Regions from separate parts of the Homo sapiens genome. Here region 2 is linked to region 1. Evidence: promoter capture Hi-C in human tissues and cell types (Jung and others, 2019). All regions are on one chromosome and are shown on one strand. The core of a region is centred on a gene start or on the middle of the fragment in contact, and the rest is flanking DNA. Distances in the headings are between cores, read along the strand shown. Region 1 holds the start of DICER1 (dicer 1, ribonuclease III). Region 2 overlaps SYNE3 (spectrin repeat containing nuclear envelope family member 3).

Evidence for each region. The method cuts DNA at HindIII sites, captures the fragments that hold promoters and counts their contacts. A contact is called where the count stands out against the background at its distance.
Region 2: a fragment that was not itself captured here is called in contact with the fragment with the promoter of DICER1 in region 1 in 2 of the 25 tissues and cell types used here (IMR-90 fibroblasts and adrenal gland).

What each region holds. Positions count from the first base shown.
Region 1 is chr14:95,156,179-95,161,683 of GRCh38, reverse strand. DICER1 (dicer 1, ribonuclease III) reads left to right here and starts at 4,155. Exons shown (of 27, transcript NM_177438.3): 1 at 4,155-4,454. DICER1-AS1 (DICER1 antisense RNA 1) reads right to left here and starts at 3,996. Exons shown (of 4, transcript NR_015415.1): 1 at 3,826-3,996; 2 at 3,450-3,491; 3 at 2,649-2,808. RefSeq lists enhancers at 3,685-3,754, 3,795-3,894 and silencers at 3,985-4,444, 4,505-4,864. The HindIII fragment of the contact is 9,684 bases long and covers 1-5,505 here.
Region 2 is chr14:95,411,912-95,417,617 of GRCh38, reverse strand. It overlaps SYNE3 (spectrin repeat containing nuclear envelope family member 3), which reads left to right. Exons shown (of 18, transcript NM_152592.6): 18 at 1-5,706. Among named protein-coding and RNA genes, the nearest start is that of LINC02292, 85 kb to the right of the region's middle. The HindIII fragment of the contact is 6,096 bases long and covers 1-4,382 here.

The sequences.
Region 1 (5,505 bases), core at 2,906-5,405:
CAGATGAAAAGATAAATAGGATGAGGTGTGGGAGAAGGGGCTCAGACCTTTCATGCCTTCCCTGGGTGCACCACCCTCCCAGGAACCTCCTGGTGTTCAGCTATCTAGAAGCTCTCCAACCCTGTCCTCATGGGTTTTTATGCAGGCTTCATTACATAAGGGATGACTGATTAAACTATTGGCCACTGGTGATAACCTGACCTTCAACCCTTCTCTTCTCCAAGAAGTTGGTGATAGGCTGAAGGTCCAACCCTCTGATCCTGCCTTGGTCTTTCTGATGACCAACCCCATCCTAAAGCTACCTAGGGGCTCCCAGCCACGAGCCAACTCATTAGCATACAAAAGACATCACTTCGGTGTTTGTAAGAAATTTAGGAGTTGTACACCAGAAAATGAGGTCAAAGACCAAATATATATTTCAGAATCTCACAAAATATATAGATACACACTTTTACATTTATATTTATTTTTATATCTACATGTATTAAGAACCATGACTTTACATGAATATCTCCAATTCCAATCCAATCACACAAACTTCTTGCTTTTCTTATTTCTGTACTTGTAACTCCCTTCTCCAACAGGGAAAAATCTGGCTCCCATTAGCCTCAATATAGTTTTTCTTTGTGTAGTTCTCCTGTATGTAATCAGCTGTCTGGCCTTGCAGGGCTGCTGCCCCACCTTCCTTCTTTGGGCTCAGACTCCTCACTGAACTGACAGCCCAGTCCAATATGGGAGTGACTATATTCTCCCATGTAGATGGAAAAGCAGAGAGAACAAGTTAGCAGAGATACATAGAAAACAATCACAAGGGGCACAGAGAGTACCTTTTGGGTTCCTGGAAGCTTTTCAATGACTGGTTCTAGTTTTTGCTAAGATGTGGCTGTATTCCTGTTCTGGGCTTTTGTGAGAAGCACCTATATCATTATGGTAAATTCTCCCTTTTTGGTTGCGCTAGTTCAGCTTGGTTTCTGTTACTTGCAAACAGAGAGTCTTAAAGGTATATTTAAATCCTGGCTTGTTCTACAAAAAATAAACCAAATTGTGGAAATAATAGGGGCTAAGGGAAAATAAAAATTAGCCCATAGAAAATGCATGCCACATGGTACTATACCGTTGCTTAACACGGGCTGAAATATAGGCTTTAAGATTTCTAGTGATCCAAACAAAGTGTGAAACAATATCCCTTACAAGATTTTATGTCTCTGGATTTAAAACAAACCAGCAAGTGGAGCATGAATAGATAGACCATTAGAACGGATACAGAGTCCAGAAGTGAACTGCTCAATAAATGACTGTGTAGCCACCTGGACAAAAAAATTAATTTGGATCTATACCTCACCCTATATATTAAATCGATTCCAAATGGATCAACTTTTAATTCCAAAAGACTTAAAGTCTAAATGTCCATCAATAGAGAATTGGTAAATTATGGTATGGATATACCTGCAATAATATGTTAAGGGGGTTGAAAAAACAGCAAGGAGCTCTCTATGTGTTACTATAAACATGCCCCCCGGATACATTAAGTAAAAAACACAAGGTGGAGTAAATATGTATGGCATGCCGGCATTTTTCTAAACAAGGAACACAAAGGGCATATCTTGGCTCATATATACATAAACATTTTGAAGAATGAGCAGGAAACAGTGGTCACCTATTTGTGACACTAGGACAGGTGTGAGGGACATCTTTTTCCACTGTGTATCTTTTATAGGCTTTCTGATAAATGAATAATATGGATATACTATTTATTTTAAAAATAAAAACTGAAATTGATAAAAATCAGACAAACCGGCCAGGCGCAGTGGCTCATGCCTGTAATCCCACCACTTTGGGAAGCCGAGGCAGGTCAGGAGTTCGAGACCAGCCTGGCCAACATGGTGAAACCCCGTCTCTACTGAAAATACAAAAATTAGCCGGGCGTGGTGGCACATGCCTGTAACCCAGCTACTTGGGAGGCTGAGGCAGAAGAATCGCTTGAACCTAGGAGGCAGAGGTTGCAGTGAGACGAGATTGCGCCATTGCACTCCAGCCTGGGCGACAAGAGTGAAACTCTGCCTCAAAAAAGAAAAAAACAAATACATAAAATTAAAAAAATAAAAAAATCAGGTATACCTGCTGATGGAACAAGCAGCCTGGCTAGTCTTGACAGATTGCAAGAGGGCAACCAGAGGGGCTGAAGTTGTACCAGCCCACAAATTTCCACTGCCAATAGAGTCCAGTGCCTACCCCCATACTGAGATGCTGTCCTTCTCATAAAGGCTTATCAGGGAGTCCACCGAAGAGATATCTACATTTGGGGATAAGTTAAGACGATGTTCTTTAAGCCAGACACTTATTTAACGCCCACCGATATTTTAATTCCTAGCTACAAAGAAAACCTTATATGTATGACTGGGGTCTTAAAGGTATGACATGCTCACCGTGCTTGACATATAAGAAACTACTTTTTTAAATACATGGGTCTGCCAGGAGCATCCTACTTCCTAATTTTGCCCATAAATATGCTACTTTCAAGTGAAACCTTAAGCCAATTCATAGTAAATATATTATCAAAATTTTAGCACAGTAATGACTGAGCACACCAGCCTCAAAGCCAGACTACGTGGGTTCAAATCTCAGTTGTTCACTTACTGGCTACTTACTTGTTGGAAGTTATTCCATTTCTTCGTCTGTTAAAACAGGAAGCAGGCTGGGTACGGTGGCTCACGCCCGTAATCCCAGCACTTTGGGAGGCCAAGGCGGACGGATGACAAGGTCAGAAATCGAGACCATCATGGCCAACATGGTGAAACCCCGTCTCTTCTAAAAATACAAAAATTAGCTGGGTGTGGTGGCGTGCCCCTGTAATCCCAGCTACTCGGGAGGCTGAGGCAGGAGAATCACTTGAACCTGGGAGGCGGAGATTGCAGTAAGCCCAGGTCGCACCACTGCACTCCAGCCTGGAGACAGAGTGAGACTCCGTCTCAAAAGAAAAAAAAAAAAAAAACAGGAAGCAGTTTCAGCACCTACCTCACAATGTGCACACAGTTAAAGCACCTACCTCACAGGGTGCACACAGTTAAAGCACCTACCTCACAGGGTGCACCTAAGGATCACAGGCATGCAAGCCCTAGATCAGCCTGCCCAATGGCAATATAATGCAGGCCACAGGTGACATTTAAAATTCTGTAGAACCCACACTAAAAAATAAACAAATAAAACTTTTATCCCAATATATGGAAAAAGTTTATCACTTCAACATGTAACAATTTTTTGAACATTATTTGGTAAAGAATGCATATATCTCGATTCCGACTAGCCATACTTTAAGTGCTCAGGAGCCATGTGGGGCTGGTGGCCCCAAACTGAACAGCACAGCCCAGGCAGCAGGGGCGCATAGTAGGTTCTGCTCACGCCCATGGTCTGAAAGAAACACGGTTGCAGTTGCTGTGAGCACACCTCACCTGGAGCAAACCGGCCTATCAGGGGGTCCACTGAAGAGATGTCTACATTTGGGGATAAATTAAGAAGATGTTCTTTAAGCCAGCCACTTATTTAATTCCCACCGATATTTTAATTCCTAGCTTCAAGCTGTGGTGCGCGGTTCCGACCTATGCAAATGAACAGCTTACAAACAGAGGGCCACCATCTATTTCTCATTATCTGGGGATCCCGGTTGGGGTGGGGGGCGGAAGTGGGTGTTTGTTATTTCCCCAAATGCGGAGGCCCCTGCACCACTAACGCGAGGAAACGCAGGCGAGTGGGAAGGTACTTTAAAAAGGGGAGGGAGGTGCTCAGAGGGAAGCTAAGCTCTCCGGGAAACAATTACGGCCACGTTACGGTCTGTGGGTGCCAGAAGGAGCAACAATGGAGGCAGTCGAATTCCGAGAGCTCAGAGAGTCTGCCAAACTTAGCCGGCCTCGGCGCGCGGGTTCCCGGGGGCCCCAAAAACTCCGGGCAACTGCGGCCCAACGCCAAGGTCCAGTCCAGGCGCTGGGCCGCAAACGCCTCTCCGGCCTCCGCGCGCGCGCCCGCTGTCTCCCTGCTCCTGAGTGGCTGGGGGGCCGGGATTAACCTTTCACCGCCAGGCCCTGTCCAATCACAGGCTCGCTCTCATGCCGCCACGGGGCGAGCGGAGCGTGGGGGCGCGGAGGGGCGGTGCGGGAGCCAGTGGGATTCTCCAAGCGGCTGTGCGCCGTTGCCGCGGGCCGTGCGCTGGCTGCCGGCCAGCCGGGCGCTGCGCAGTCTCCGCAGGCGCCGGCGGGAGGGGTCGAGGCGGAGGCGCGGCGCAGGCTGCTGCAGGCCCAGGTGAATGGAGTAACCTGACAGCGGGGACGAGGCGACGGCGAGCGCGAGGAAATGGCGGCGGGGGCGGCGGCGCCGGGCGGCTCCGGGAGGCCTGGGCTGTGACGCGCGCGCCGGAGCGGGGTCCGATGGTTCTCGAAGGCCCGCGGCGCCCCGTGCTGCAGGTGAGGCGGGCTCCCGCGGAGCAGCTTTGTGTCCGGGGCGGGGAGCGGGTCGCCTGGCCGCGCTCCCGCCTCCGCGCGGAGGCCCGCGTGCCGGCCATGGCCCCGAGCCGCGCGTCCGGGCCTGGCGGGCGCTGACGAAGGGCGCGGCCTCGCCTGCCTCGTCGTCCCGCACAGCGCGGCCTGTGGACCCGGCGTCTGCCCGCCTCGGCTCTGCTCCTGGGCCCGGACCCCGGCGCCTCCCCGCGAGGCAGCCCTGGGAGACTTTCCGGGCCGCCGTGGCGTGGTGGGGGATGCCGGCGCCTGTCCACTCCCCGGCCTGGCGAGGCCTGGGGCTCTTGACAGGTCCCGTCACGCGCGCTAAGGTGGCGCGGGAGCAGCGGAGGTGGAGACGCGCGCCTGACCTGCCGGAGCACCCTGGGGCCCTCCTCTGATGGGGCCGCTGTGCCGCGCCCGGAGGGGACGAAGCTGGGCTCTCGGTCCCTCCCGGGAGGGTCCTGTGTGATTACTGTCAGGGGACCAGATTGGGGCCCTGGGGGGCGGGCAGGGGCCGAGGCCATTCTTTTGCCTCTCCCCTCAGATGTTTTTGTGCCAAAATGCCTAGACCCTGCGGAGGACCCTTTCTTCAGGGTTTTTGATTTTGGGGAAATCAGTGTATGTTTTAAGTTAGCACATCAGATTTCTGTAGATTGTCCAGAAAAGCTGAGTTGCCCTGATGGCTCTGCCTGGAGGTCAGAGCCAGCAAACCACTGAGTGTGTCCTTAGGAACCTGAAGATCCGCGGAAACGTGGAGATGAGTTGGAGGGTCCTATTTGTGTAGTGTTAACTCCGTGCTTTTGTGGAGAGAGTTGTGGTTAAAGGGACACGTTACTGGTCTACACGATAAGTAAGTGTTCTTAGGACTTTCAGGTTTTAAAAACATTCATCTGATGAAAGAGGATCACTTGGACGCCTATGCTTCTGTCTTCGAATATTCTGAATCTTTACAATCCTGATTGTCAGGTGTCTTCGTGGTGCTTGTTTTCAAACAGTGGAAAAGGACTCAGGTTAGGAT
Region 2 (5,706 bases), core at 85-2,584, 260 kb before region 1:
TGACTAGGGAATAATGTCTAGAATTTTTATATGATCTGTATGTAAATGCTCAGTATGTATAATTTCATATACGAGTTCTATTTGGAGTTGGGAAAATTCCTAGCAATGGCTCCCTCCAATGGGATTTTGTGGTATTGTTGACTTGGTCTGCAGTCAACCCTAGAAAGCAAGAACAATAACATGTCACTTTCATGGCAACCTCTTCTCCAAAGCGAATCCCAGAATTCAGATGTAATGAAAGGCCTCTGAGCTGCAACGTGGAAGAGCGCCATAGACCCTCACTTGGTGCCCAGCGACTCTTGCTTTATGCGTAATGAGAACAAGTATGCTTGTCTAGTTTTAACAACCACAAAGAGTAGCTGCCACGTGTCAGAAGTAGAAATGGCAATGACCAGAGGCAGGTTCAATGATAGCAGTGACAAGTGACAGAGTGATATCGAGGGAGAAAAAGAAGAGCTGCAGAGAGCAGATCCCCGAACTAAGAAAGCACAGCTGTGTGGAGGCATTGCATGCCGGAGCCCTAACCCCAGCTCTCAGCGGCTTCTGATCACACAGACCTATGAGGACTGTCCCTGGTGATGACACCGAGCCCCCATGAAACGGTGAGATCCTGCTCTGTGTGTTTCATTCAGGGAGAAAGGGAAGAAGACAAGCTTGATTTTTAAGATTTCCATGCAGAATGGTGAGGCACACTCGGTGGGCAGCACCCACTGGCAGTGCCCAGGAAAGATGTGTTTCCTCTGTTGCTCCTGGACTGAGTTTTCATCGTCGAGAGCTCGAGCTGCAGGTGAGAAGGGAAGCATCTGCCACGCCAGGGGCCAGGGATCGAGGGTCCAGGACAGAGGTGAGAGAATCTGCTTTGGAGTTCAGCCTGTCTCAAGGGCTCTCCTTCCGCTTCCCAGAAAAGACTCTGGAGACAGCAGGTCTATGGGGCCAAGAAGGTCTCATGTGCATCCCCATATGGGACTAGGGCCCAGGCCACCCAAAACCAGGCCCTCTCCAGCCAGGTGTAGGCGAGCTGGGCTCCATGCACCACCTGGGCTGGGGCCGCGGTGACTCCATGTGAGTTCCCGAGGCCAGAAACTCATCCCTTCCTTGCCAGGGAACTCTGGGATGGTTCCTAAGTGCTCTACAACTGGATCATGTTTTTCCTAAATCAACACTAAATTTTCCCCTTTAAAAAAGTACTTAATGCCCACTCTCTACAAATGGATTTTGTCTGTTCAACTACAAATACGAGGGGATTTCCTCGGACCTTCTGTCCGGCTTTGGAATCATAAGGTATTATAGACCCAGAAAGGCCCTTTAAGTAGAGGGGAAACTGAGGACCTAAGAGGGCCTGATACCCAGCACCATTGCTGTCTCACACACACTGACCCTTTGCCTTTCACTGTGAGCTCTGCCCTTGGGGACCCGGGTCCTAGGCAACTAGGACATTTCACCGGCAGGAAACCCGTGCTGCCAAGGAGAGCCCTTGGGGCTGACTCAGAAAGCGTACTTTTTTTTTTCTTTTAACTCGTCTGTATTTGTTACAACTTTAAGCAGAATGTGACTTGGGCACTATATTTCCATCCACAAGCCTGGCTCTGAGTTATTATTATTATTGTTATTATAATTATTTTGAGATGGAGTTTCGCTCTTTTTGCCCAGGCTGGAGTGCAGTGGTGCGATCTCGGCTCACTGCAACCTCCGCCTCCCAGATTCAAGCGATTCTCCTGCTTCAGCCTCCCAAATAGCTGGGATTACAGGCATCTGCCACCATGCCCAGCTAATTTTTGTATTTTTAGTAGAGTTAGGGTTTTACCATGTTGGCCAGGCTGGTCTCGAACTCCTGACCTCAGGTGATCCGCCCACCTCAGCGTCCCAAAGCACTGGGATTACAGGCATGAGCCACCATGCCTGGCCATTTTTTTTTTTTTTTGAATAGCTTTATGATAAGCTGTAGGCTTATAATTATGCTCCTCCAAACAACACTTTTCTTTGGAAAACAAGCCCTGTAGACTCTCCATCCTTCCATCAAGTTCCTTCCCTCAAGCTGCTTCAGTTTAACTTATTTCTACAAGACTAGTACATGCAGAATTGGCAACTACAGGGGATGAAAAGTTCAAAAAGTAGATCCTACAACCCTGTGACTTGGTTTCCAAATATCTAGAGAAATTTGTGATTTCATGGAAGAAGAGAAAGCACACTTTTCTCCAGATATCTGGAAACCAAGCCATAGGGCCGTTCTCTGCAGGCGACCACCTTACTGGAAAATCAGGAGCTGAGTGAGCCCAGGCAGCCAAGCCCAGATGTCCAGTCCTGGAAGTCAGAGCAGTGGCAGGGTGGGTGGGTGGGGGGGCCTTGCCAGGTGTCCACTTTCCTATGTCACAGGTGAGAAAGCTGAGGCCCAGAATGGGGAAGAAACTGATCCATGGCCACACAGTGAGAGGCAGCAAGGCCAGAGCCCAACTGGCCACCATGGCCCTCAGGTGGTACCCTGCTCATTGTGGTATGATCCGCTCATGTCAGCAACTACATGAAAAAAACAGCCACTGGGCATGTATGCAGCCTGTCACATATACCACATGTTGGGGAAGGAGAAGCTGGAACATGCGGGCGGGGGTGGGAATATCTACCTATATTTTTTAAATTTTGATAATGATGCCATCAAGTCTGTTTGTTTGCATAACTGTTTTTTAAAAAAGAATTGATATTTTCAGTATTTTCATATAAATATACTTGTAATATAACGTAACAGCCCAGTTACTGGTGCTTCCAAGCACAAGTGCAATCTCCTTTGCTTAAAGGAGAGCCAGGCAATTATTCTTATGACTTTAGTTTCCAGCCTCTTTAACAGCCATGCAGAGCTTTAAGGTGCTACTTGAGAAAGGTGGCGCTGTGGCGTGTGTGTGTGTGTGTGTGTGTGTGTGTGTGTGTGTGTGTGTGTGTCAGAGAGAGAGAGAGGAGGGAAGGAGAGGAGGGAGAAAGGACCACCAGTGGGTCGGTTGATGAATTAGTTATCCCTGCTTACCTGTCCCTCCCACCCCTTTCTTTCTTAGCCCGTTCTCTGCATGTGGAAAGGCACATGCAGCACCCAGAGGGTGTTTAAAAAGAAAAGCTGGGAGCGGGAGGGATGGGCAGGTACTGACAGCAGACGAGGCGAGGAGACCCTGGGAGGTGCCCAGTGGTGGCGGGACAGAGGGAACACCGACAAGGGAGACAAAGAATGTGCTCGTTTGGTGCTCGTGGGTGCTTGAGCCCCTTGGGCGGCACTTTGCAGCCTTGCTTTATGTAATTCCCACATCGACACCTGCCCCCAGGGTTTGATACTGTTTTACCCCCATGTTTGAGATGGAACCCTGAGGCTTAAAGATATAAAGACCCTTGCTCATGCTGAAGTGGGTCCAAACCCACAACATGGGGCAATGAGGACCCCAAAGCCCAGGCTGGAGGGGGGCTTCAGGCTGGTTCTACCAGGTTGCAGTCTCTGTAGCCTCTGGGAATGGAGTTCCCTGGGCAAGCAGGCAGAACTCTCTGCCCATCAGCTCGCCTGGGACATGGCCAGAGCGGAGCATCCAAATGTTTCCCTGAGGGACTGCCCTCAGCTCTGAGATGAGTCACCACCAGCAGCACATTCCCTTGGGCCATCTATCATTATCTTCACATTGCTCACCTGGAAGATGAGCCCCTCTAATGTCTCATGATGAGGTCCTCGGTCATGAATGACAGAACTCCACACCCCCAATGCCCAGCACAGGATAAGAGCTTCAGCTGTGGTTTGTTGAATTACATTAAAAACCCAAAGGCAAATGTGTTTCCTGACACCCGACTCCCTTCCAGAGGAAATGGGTCAAGGATGACCTGACCCAATTCCATCTCTCAGGCCCCGTTTGCTTCAGGCAGCTGGCTGGAGTTCCCTGCAGGGACCGGGGGTCCAAAGATGCTTGTCTCCGGGCATCTTCAGGGGAAGGAAGCTGGGGACCCTCTGCACCCTGGGGGCCAAGGAGAATGACAGGCAGAGGGCAGGAAAAGGCCTGAAGGCGGGTGGTTTGTGCTGGATGTTCCCTAATGGATTTTACAGCTGGCAAACTGGGACCGGTGGCATCATCCTGCCCTGCCTTGCAGGGGATGGGAGGCTGGGGCTGCCCACAGTTAGGGAGTAAAGAGGGGATCTTATCTCTTCCATTAGACTGGAGCCAGGCCTGACTGGGAAGCTGGGAGGCTTTGCAGAAGCTTTGAGGAACTGCACTTTATGGTGGTCTGGCTGGAGAGGGCGGACGGGGAAGTGGGCCAGAGGGAGTCAAAGGCCAGAGGTGATGTCAGGCTTGATTTACTGAACTGTGTGCTTAAAAGTGGTTAAGATGCTAAATTTTATGTTATGTTTATTTTACCACAATTTGAGGGTGAGAGGAGAGAGTGAGAGCAAAAGAGACAGAGAGAAGAGAGAGAAAAGGAGGAAGGGAGGGAGGGAGGGAGGGATAGAGAGAGAGAAAAAGAGAATGGGAATGGCAGGCTGTGCCTTCATGGTTCCCAACTTTCCTCTGAGGACAAGCGCTAGTGGCAAAGCTTTCACTGACCAAAGGCAAGTGAAACAATACGAGGGAACAACTTGAGTTTTTCTTTCCATAGGATTTATTTTGCCCAAACGCTGGCTCTTCATTCTGGGATTATGTCCCTCCTACTTCAAGGGTGCTCAATGGCCTTTAGGAAATGAGGGATAGGTAAAGGTGGCTCTGTCTTCTTTGATGGTTTCTATTGTGTTTTGGGAGCCCTCATTGGACAAAATAAAAAGTTGCCAACTCTATGTTGGTTTTGCTCCCCATACAGTATTCTTCCTGGAAAAACATGCTGTCTGAAAGTTTGGGAACCCAGGAGATGGTTGGGAGAAGAGAGCAGCTTGAGGATTGCTTAGTGCAGGAGTCCCCGAGGGAGAGAAGGAAAGAGAAATGGGAAGAGGGACATCGTGGAAAGTTGTGGCAACTGGGTTCAGGGGAGGCCAGGAGCCTGCCAGCTGTGGCCTCTAAAAAAATAAAACCCAGGTGCTCACTGGCCCTGCCTTCCCACTGGCCATTCGGATGCTGTCCGGGGTCTGCGGCTTTCTCTCCCCTGGTTGGTGGGCAGAAGTGCCCTGTGCCTCTTTGCATCTTAATCCAATGCAACAAGCATTCTCCAGCCTGTGCCAGGCTTTGTGCTGGGAGATTCGGGGTGAACAAAGCCCAGTCCCTGCCCTCAGGGAGCTTGCAGACGAAGAAAAGGGTTTGTGCCATTGAAGATGCCCAACGGGATTGCAGTCATTGCCCTTGACTTTGCCCATCTGCCTTTCCAGAGGGGGCAGGCCCACTGTCACAGAAACTGGAAGAGCCACACAGGGGAGACAGTGGGAGAGCTCGGAACAGGGCATGAGAGTGTCTTGCTGCCTCTTGGAGGCCACCATTGTGACTATGAACCATACCGGGCAGAGGAAGTGGGTCAAGGAGGCCAGGGCAGCTGGGCCGGGCAGGGAGAGGACCTGGGCATGGCAGAGGAGGGGAAAATAGACTGACCCAGCCTCAGGAGGTCAGAAGTGTGTTGGGCTGTGCTGGGTCACAGAACAACACAGCTTGGGAGGCTCCTGGAGGCTTCAAGGGGAGGCTTAAGGCTAAGGCTGTGGATGTTGATTGTCGTGTCCATTACTAGCCCAATTATTAGTCTGTCTTCCTGGTAAAAATGTGTGGTTGGAAATGC